2 separate regions of the Homo sapiens genome follow, and region 1 is linked to region 2. The links are contacts of gene promoters, found by promoter capture Hi-C in blood cells and fetal thymus (Javierre and others, 2016). All regions are on one chromosome and are shown on one strand. The core of a region is centred on a gene start or on the middle of the fragment in contact, and the rest is flanking DNA. Distances in the headings are between cores, read along the strand shown. Region 1 overlaps OR1D2 (olfactory receptor family 1 subfamily D member 2). Region 2 holds the start of OR1G1 (olfactory receptor family 1 subfamily G member 1).

Region 1 (4,260 bases), core at 1,537-4,036, 37 kb before region 2:
TTCCTTGGGAACACCAGTCATTCTTAGGTTTGGCCATTTTACATAATCACAATCTTCTTGGAGGCTTTGTTCATTTTTTAAAATTCTGTTTTCTTTGTCTTTGATGGGTTGGGCTTTTGAAAGCCTTGTCTTTGAACTCTGAAGTTCTTTCTGCTACTTGTTTGTTTCTATTGCTGGGACTTTCCAGTGCATTTTACATCTCTCTAAATATGTCTTTCATTTCCAGAAGTTGTGATTGTTTTTTATTTATGCTATCTATTTCACTGAAGATTTTTGCTTTCATATCCTTCATATCCTGTATCTTTTTTAGCAGGAAGAGCTGCAGACCAAACTCCTCAGACACCAAGTTAAAGAAGGAAGGGGTTTATTTGGCCAGGAGCATCGGCAAGACTCCTGTCTCAAGAGCTGAGCTCCCCCAGTGAGCAATTCCTGTCCCTTTTAAGGGCTCACAACTCTAAGGGGGTCTGCGTGAGAGAGTCATGATCAATTGAGCAAGCAGGGGGTACGTGACTGGGGGCTGCATGCACCAGTAATCAGAACAAAACAGAACAGGACAGGGATTTTTACAATGCTTTTCCATACAATGTCTGTAATCTATAGATAACATAACCAGTTAGGTCAGGGGTCGATCTTTAACTACCAGGCCCAGGGCGTGGTGACAGGCTGTCTGCCTTTAGATTTCATTTCTGCCTTTTAGTTTTTACTTCTTTCTTTGGAGGCAGAAATTGGGCATAAGACAATATGAGGGGTGGTCTCCACCCTTACTTTTTTTTTTTTTAATTTAAGTTGAACTTCACCTTTCTCGGGCACCTCCTTGATTAGCTTAATACTCAACTTTCTGAATTCTTTTTCTGGCAATTCAGAGATTTCTTCTTGGTTTGGATCCATTGCTGGTGAGCTAGTGTGATCTTTCAAGGGTGTTAAAGAACCTTGTTTTGTCATATTACCAGATTTGTTTTTCTGGTTCCTTCTCATTTGGGTAGACTATGTCAGAAGGAAGATCTGGGGCTCAAGGGCTACTTATCAGATTGTTTTTGTCCATGGGATCCCCCCTTGATATGGGGCTCTACCCCATCTCCTGGGGATGGGGCTTCCTGAGAGCCAAACTGCAATGATTGTTATTTCTCTGCTGGTCTAGCCATCCAACAGAGCTTCTGGGCTCTGAGCTGGTACTGGGGGGTGTCTGTGAAGAGTCCTGTGATGTGATCTGTCTTCAGTCCCTCAGGCATGGATACCAGTGCCTGGTCCAGTGGAGGTAGCAGTGGAGTAAAGTGAACTCTCATGGTCCAAGTGTTTATCTAGGAGTCTATGGTCCTTGGTTGAAGTTTTGTTTAGTGTACTAGTTGGCCTCCAGCCAAGAGGTGGTCCTTTCAAGAGTGCACCAGCTGTGGTAGCATAGGGGGGATACAAACTTGCCCTAAGGTGGCCTGGATAAGTATTCCAGTTTCTCAGGTGGTGAGTGGGACCATAGAGCTCCCAAGAGATTATGCCCTTTGTCTTCGGCTACCAGGGTGCGTAGAGAAAGACCATTAGGTTGGGGCAGGGTTAGGCATGTGTGAGCTCCGACTCTCCTTCGGTGGGGCTTGCTGTGGCCACTGTGAGGGATGGGGGTGTGGTTAACAGGCCAATGAAGTTATGTTCCCATGGGGATTATGGCTGCCTCTGCTGTGTCATACAGGTTGCCAGGGAAGTGGTGGAAAGCCAGCAGTGATAGGCCTCACCCAGCTCCCATGCTGTCCAAGTGGCCATGTCACTCCCAATGTGCCCTACCCCTAACAGTGCTGAGTTTATTTCCGGGTAGCTGGTGAGCAGGGCTGAAAACTTGTTCCAGGCTGCAAGTCTCCCTGTTGAGAAAGCAAGCAGCACTTTCAGGTTTCTGTTTTCCTGCCTGTGGTGGCTGCTGTGAATAGCCATTTTTAGAAAAATAAGTTTTCTGCCTCCTTTTCTTTCACTTTTCCTTCTGATACTTATGTAATGTGTGTATTTGTTTGATGGGTCCCATATGTCCCATAGGCTTTCTTCACTCTTTTTCCATTTGTTTCTCTTACTAGTACTTTCAAATGACCTGTTTTTGAGTAGTGAATTCTTTCTTCTGTTTCTTCATATCTGCTGCTGAAGCTCTTTTGAGTTTTTTAAAGTTTAGTCATTGTATTATTTAGCTCCAGAATTACTGTTTCTTTTTTGTGGTTTCTGTTTGTTGAAATTTACATTTTATTTATGTATTGATTTCCTGATTTTGTTTAGTAGTTTACCTGTGTTTTTGTGTGGGTCACCATGTTTCTTCAAATGATCACTTGAATTCTTTGTCAGGCAGTTCATATTTCTCCATTTCTTTGATGGTTTCTGAAGCTTTATTTTGTTCCTTTGGCTTTGCTAAGTTTCCTTGATTCCTTGTGTTTCCTGTAGCTTCACATTTGTGTTTGCACATTTGAAGAAGCAGTCATCTCTTTTAGTCTTTACAGGCTGGTTTTGATAGGGAAAGTCCAATTTGATAGGAACTGTTTTTCACCAGTCAGCTTAGCCAGATATTCTGGGCTGGCCAGTTGGCAGGGTCTATGGGCAGGCAGGCCTAGTGCTTGGGGATGTGGGTGGATGGGCCAGCTTCTGGGCACCATGCACAGGCCCACTGTAGGGTGCAAGGCCCCAGTTGTTAAAATACACATACTGACTATTAAGAGCTCCCAACCATTTTCTTATTTTTTTTTTTTCTTGTTCTTAGCTACTCAGAGGGGTCTGGCCATGTGAATTGCCTCAGTATTCTTGGTGAGGCATGACAGAAGTGGTCCTCTTGGTTAGCATCCTGAAAGTCAGGGGAAGTTGTACATATGTTTTATTTTCTTTTTTACTTATGGAAGAACTCATGAGATGAGGGGATCTCTCTTTGTGCTACTCTGTGCTGGCTTGGGTGAGGGGTGATTCAGGTAATGTGACAGAGTTTTTTCTACAATGTTCAATATGGTGTTTTTTCTACTTCTGTGTACTACCAGGGTGCTATAAACTTTCACTTGGATTCTGGAGCTCTCACAAAGGTATTTTCATCTGTGGATGGTTGATAAATTAGTCTGTATGTTGGTGGATGAGAGATACAACTGTCGATTCCACCATCTTGTTGACATCACTCCTTTCACCCGTTTTGAAATATCTTTTACCTGATGTCATTGCAGCAATATTTCACTTAAAATATTTAGTATTTTCCAAATATGTCTGTTTCTCTTTTTAATTTCAAGCTTTATATATTCCTGTGCTTTCATCGTGTCTCTTTAAATACATCTATCTATATTTTATTTTTTAATCAGTATGTTGAACATTACTTTTTAATTGATGAGTTAGGTCCATTTATGTTTAATGTAAATTTATGTACTTCCCCGAGTAGACTGTGACCTCACATTTGTAACCCAGTTTGAGGCCTCTGTACACTGTCATTATGAATAGAATGAGTTGATGAATGACTGCATGAATGTCAAATGAATTGAACACCACCTGTCGAGGTCTATATCACGTGCTGGATCAGCTGATACAAATATGTATGATTGCAATCTCTTTCAAACCTCCACAGCCATGTGACTAACTTTCTTATCAGCTACTATTTACTTTCTGTACTTTGGATGTGTGCTAGATGAGAGACACTTCTAGGTTTAAACTGGATATAGTCAGATAAGGCCAAGAATGTGGCCCTGTAGTCAAGTACATTGAAGAATTTGACCCTGCAACATTCTAGTGTTGGTGTTAGTGTGACCTTATTTACGGCCAAGGCTGATGAGACCTGGGGGACACCAGGTTACAAATATGTCTTTTTTATCACCACATATCTATATGCTGTCTCTGAGCTGGAGCCATGTCCCAATCACTGCTGTATAACACACAGGACAATCCCTTACATAGGGTGAAGGATATTCCTAGTCTCCACTTTAATGCTGTCTTTCCAAATTGCCCTCATGTCAGCCTCTTAAAGTGTTTATCTAGGAGTCTTCCCAGAGCCCCATGCATGTCCTTGTTCCTCAGGCTGTAGATGAAGGGATTCATCATGGGTGTCACCACAGCATACATCACTGTGGCTACTGAGTCCTTCACAGAGTAGGTATGGAGGGGCTTTAGGTATACCATACAAAGTGTCCCATAGAAGAGGGAGACTGCACCCAAATGGGAGGCACAGGTGGAGAAGGCTTTGTATTTCTTAGAGACTGAGGGTATTCTGAGGATGGCTCTGATAATCAGCACATAGGAAATGATCACGAATCCAAAGGGAATGAGGAAGATGAA
Region 2 (3,686 bases), core at 363-2,862:
GCAGAGATGAAATGAGTGTGGAAAAAATTGCCCTGAAGAGGAACCTGAGGTTTTCACATGAAGTCTAAGGTGGCAGGAGGATTATGGGTCTTGGAGGCCTGGTAAGACACTGCAGTGAGTCTGTCTGAAGATGCCATCTCCATCAAGCCCTTCCTAGACCCAGTTCCTCATCACTGAGCATGGGAGCATCACAGATACGGGCAGTGCCTGTGGCAGAAACACTGTGGGTGGGGATCCGAGTGATCAGGATCACAGTGATGCTGGGGGAAGGTCGTCCTTCCCTGAATTTTATTCTTGGCCCTATACAACAGCCCAGCCAGATATTCCCTTATTTCAGTCATGAGCTGTCCCATGTTGTTTAAAAAGCATTAACTAATAACATTATTAAATCATCAATATTATTAACTATAGTAAATATAATAAGGCATGACATTATATTATACATCTGGATGGCTGTGGTTTTAGAACATAATTGTAAGAACTTCACCTGTGACATTGGCCTGATGATGGGTTATGATGCAGTCCTGTAGCTTAGACATGAATATTTCAGGTTCAGATCGTAGGTACTGGAACAGAGGTCTCTAGATTCTCTCCATCTTTCATTCTTCACTGCTTACTGTGGTGAACGCAGGTGCATGGAGACCCCCATATTGGATGTCAAGTCACTACCACTAAGGGGAATGAATTTTCCGAACCCAGATTAACTTTCTCAGGGAAGACTTTATTTCTTGGTTCCTCAAACTGTAGATAAAGGGATTCAACATTGGAGTTACCACTGTGTACATCACTGATGCAACTGTGTCCTTCTGGGCCGAGTGGGTTGAGGGAGAACTGAAATCAACACAAAAAGAAGTCCCAAAGAAGAGAGAGACCACGGAGAGATGAGAGCTGCAGGTGGAAAAGGCTTTCCGCTTCCCCTGAGCTGATGGGATCTTCAGGATGGTCGAGAAAACGTTCGTGTAAGAGATAATCAGGCAAAGCACACAAATGAGTCCTGTGAGACCCCCAGTGATGAAGATCACCAGCTCATTGGTGAAGGGGTCTGTGCAGGACAGACTCAGGAGGGGATTGATGTCACAGAAGAAGTGTGGGATCTCATGGTTTGCGCAGAAGGACAGGCTGTTCATCAGAAGTGTGTGTAGAAGGGAGTGGAGGGCATTCATGATCCAGGATGCAGACACGAGGAAGATGCAGAGCCCAGGGCTCATGATCAGAATGTAATGAAGTGGGTGGCATATGGCCACGTAGCAGTCATAGGCCATGACCGCCAAGAGGAATGCCTCCAGCATCACAAATAACATGAAAAAATACAACTGTAGTAGACACCCTGAGTAGGAGATGGCCTGACTCTGGATCTGTATGTTTGCCAGCATCTTAGGGACTGTGGTGGACACAAAGCAGGCATCTGCAAGGGAGAGGTTGGCTAGAAAGAAGTACATGGGGGTATGGAGTTGAGTGTCAGTAATGATGACTAGAATGATGAGGAGGTTGCCTGCCACCGTGACCAAGTACATGAACAGGAAGGACCCAAAGAGGGGCTTCTGCTCCTCCAGCTGCTCAGAGAACCCCAGGAGGAAACATTCTGAGATGCTGGTCAGATTTTTCCCCTCCATTTGTCTGTAGGAAGAAAGTTGGGTTAATTGGGTGACGTTGGTAAGCCCTGGATTGTGAACTCTGAAAATTATGCAATATTCCAGTGTTGATCTTCTAGTGTGAGGTTGGATCATAGGAAATCTCCACTATTTGACTCTTTGGGACCTGCAAAAATGGCCATTTCATAGGGTTCGACTAAATATTTGCAAATTCCTGTGCTTGGTGCTATGAGAAACCACAGATTTGTTTGTAATGCAATGAGAGGCTTTTAAATTTATTCCATAAGCATTAAGCCAATATGTGTATTTTGGGGCTGGGCTGGAGGGGCTTGCTGGCTTTGCTCTGGTAGTGTTCATGTAGAAACTATGACATTTATACAACCCAAGATTTTACAGGTCAAATGAGCCCATTGTACCAATAATTAAAAAGACAGCTCCTGGAAAGGGGTTTTGGAATTGGGAAAAGCATGGCTAACATGGAAATCATTATCACTGTTATCTACACAGCGGGTCTGGCCAGAAACCTGAGCGTCATTATTGACCCACGTTTCTCCCTCCCTGCCTACATCCAACCACCACCAAAGCCTGGCAATTTTACCTTCTCAATATGGCTACAATTTACTGACGTCTCTCTGTTTACTGGTCACCATCAGTCCCAGCTGCAGCTCATGTCATTCAGGGCACTGTGATTTCTCACTTGGATTTGGGCAGTTGATCTCCATGCCCCCAGGTATGCCCACCTGCCACCTGCTGTTCTAAATACACAGAGAATAGGCTTGCTAAAAATCAAATTCGACTCTTGTCTTTCTGCTTGAAAAATCCTTCATACACTCCTCATTACTCCCAGGATAAACTCTAAACTGAACACGGCTGAATGTCCTGGATCTTACCGTCATTTATTACAGACATCCCCAGTTCCTCATGAAACTCCCTCCTCCACTCCACACTTTATGCACTAATCATAGTTTCAATTATTTTAAAGGCCCAGATACTCCCTCACCTTTAGGCTTTCTCAGGCTGAAATAGTTTTTCCCATCCCATTTATCAGACGAGCTAAGCTTCAGGTCTCACCTTAGATGTCACCTCTTCTGGGAAGTCTTTCCCAACTCATCCTCTCACCAGAAACTCAGGTTCGTGACCTTCCTAATGCAGTGCCTCCCCCATCACAGCACGTGTCACCTTGGATTCTGAGTGTCTGTTTATATGAGTGTCCCTCATTCTGCTGTGAGCATCACTGGGAGTAGGCAGAGATGGTGCCTAATTGGCTCAGCTTTGAAATCTAGCATTAGCCTTGAGGCTGGTACAACACAGATGCTCAGTATGAATCTATCATGTAAATACATAAACCCCAGAGAATGGAAAGAGTGGGAAGAATGGAAAGGGGCTTTGCTATAGAGGTAATATCAGGCATAAGAATTAGCCTGAACCTTTATTATTATTGTTATGATTTTTGAGATGGAGTCTCACTCTGTCACCCAGGCTGGAGTGCAGTAGCACGAACTCAGCTCACTGCAGTCTCCACCTGCTGGGCTCAAGTGATTCCCTTGTCTCAGCCTCCTGAGTAGCTGGGATTACAGGCCACTGCTACCACACCTGGCTATTTTTTTTTTTTTTTTTTTTGTATTTTTAGTAGAGATGGGGTTTCATCACATTGGCCAGGCTGGACTTGAACTCCTGACCTCAGGTGACCCACCTGCCTCGGCCTCCCAAAGTGCTGGGATTACAGGCATGAGCCACCACACCCAGCCAACCTTTTTGTTAGTAGGTTCAGTGGTAGCTTTGAGTTAATGGAGTCCTGGCCATAGGAATATGTAGGGAAACACTACGGTTACAGAGAGATAAGTGTTCCAAACAAATGCATTCTTTCTAGGTGAAATTCTTGGGATGGAACAGTGTTTCAGCTGAGTGATTAACCCACGGAATCAGTTTCCCTGTGCCGCTTTTTTTTACCTTCAGAGTTTAATATAACCTATGGATTTGTAAGCCTTAGTTACGTACACTAAAATTACTACTTACTAGGCAATAGTGGCATCTTATGTCTTATTCTCTCTCTGACCATGGATATTTCTTATTTATTTATTTTTGAGACGGAGT

What was found. Contacts are between HindIII fragments. The CHiCAGO score rates a contact against its expected background, and 5 or more counts as called.
Region 1: a fragment that was not itself captured here is called in contact with the fragment with the promoter of OR1G1 in region 2 in 1 of 17 cell types (endothelial precursors); the score reaches 5.3 in endothelial precursors.

What each region holds. Positions count from the first base shown.
Region 1 is chr17:3,088,125-3,092,384 of GRCh38, forward strand. It overlaps OR1D2 (olfactory receptor family 1 subfamily D member 2), which reads right to left. Exons shown (of 2, transcript NM_002548.3): 2 at 360-4,260. The coding sequence ends at 3,934. Among named protein-coding and RNA genes, the nearest start is that of OR1D2, 14 kb to the right of the region's middle. The HindIII fragment of the contact is 878 bases long and covers 2,348-3,225 here.
Region 2 is chr17:3,125,939-3,129,624 of GRCh38, forward strand. It overlaps OR1G1 (olfactory receptor family 1 subfamily G member 1), which reads right to left and starts at 1,613. Exons shown (of 1, transcript NM_003555.1): 1 at 672-1,613. The coding sequence starts at 1,613. The coding sequence ends at 672. The HindIII fragment of the contact is 3,090 bases long and covers 1-2,648 here.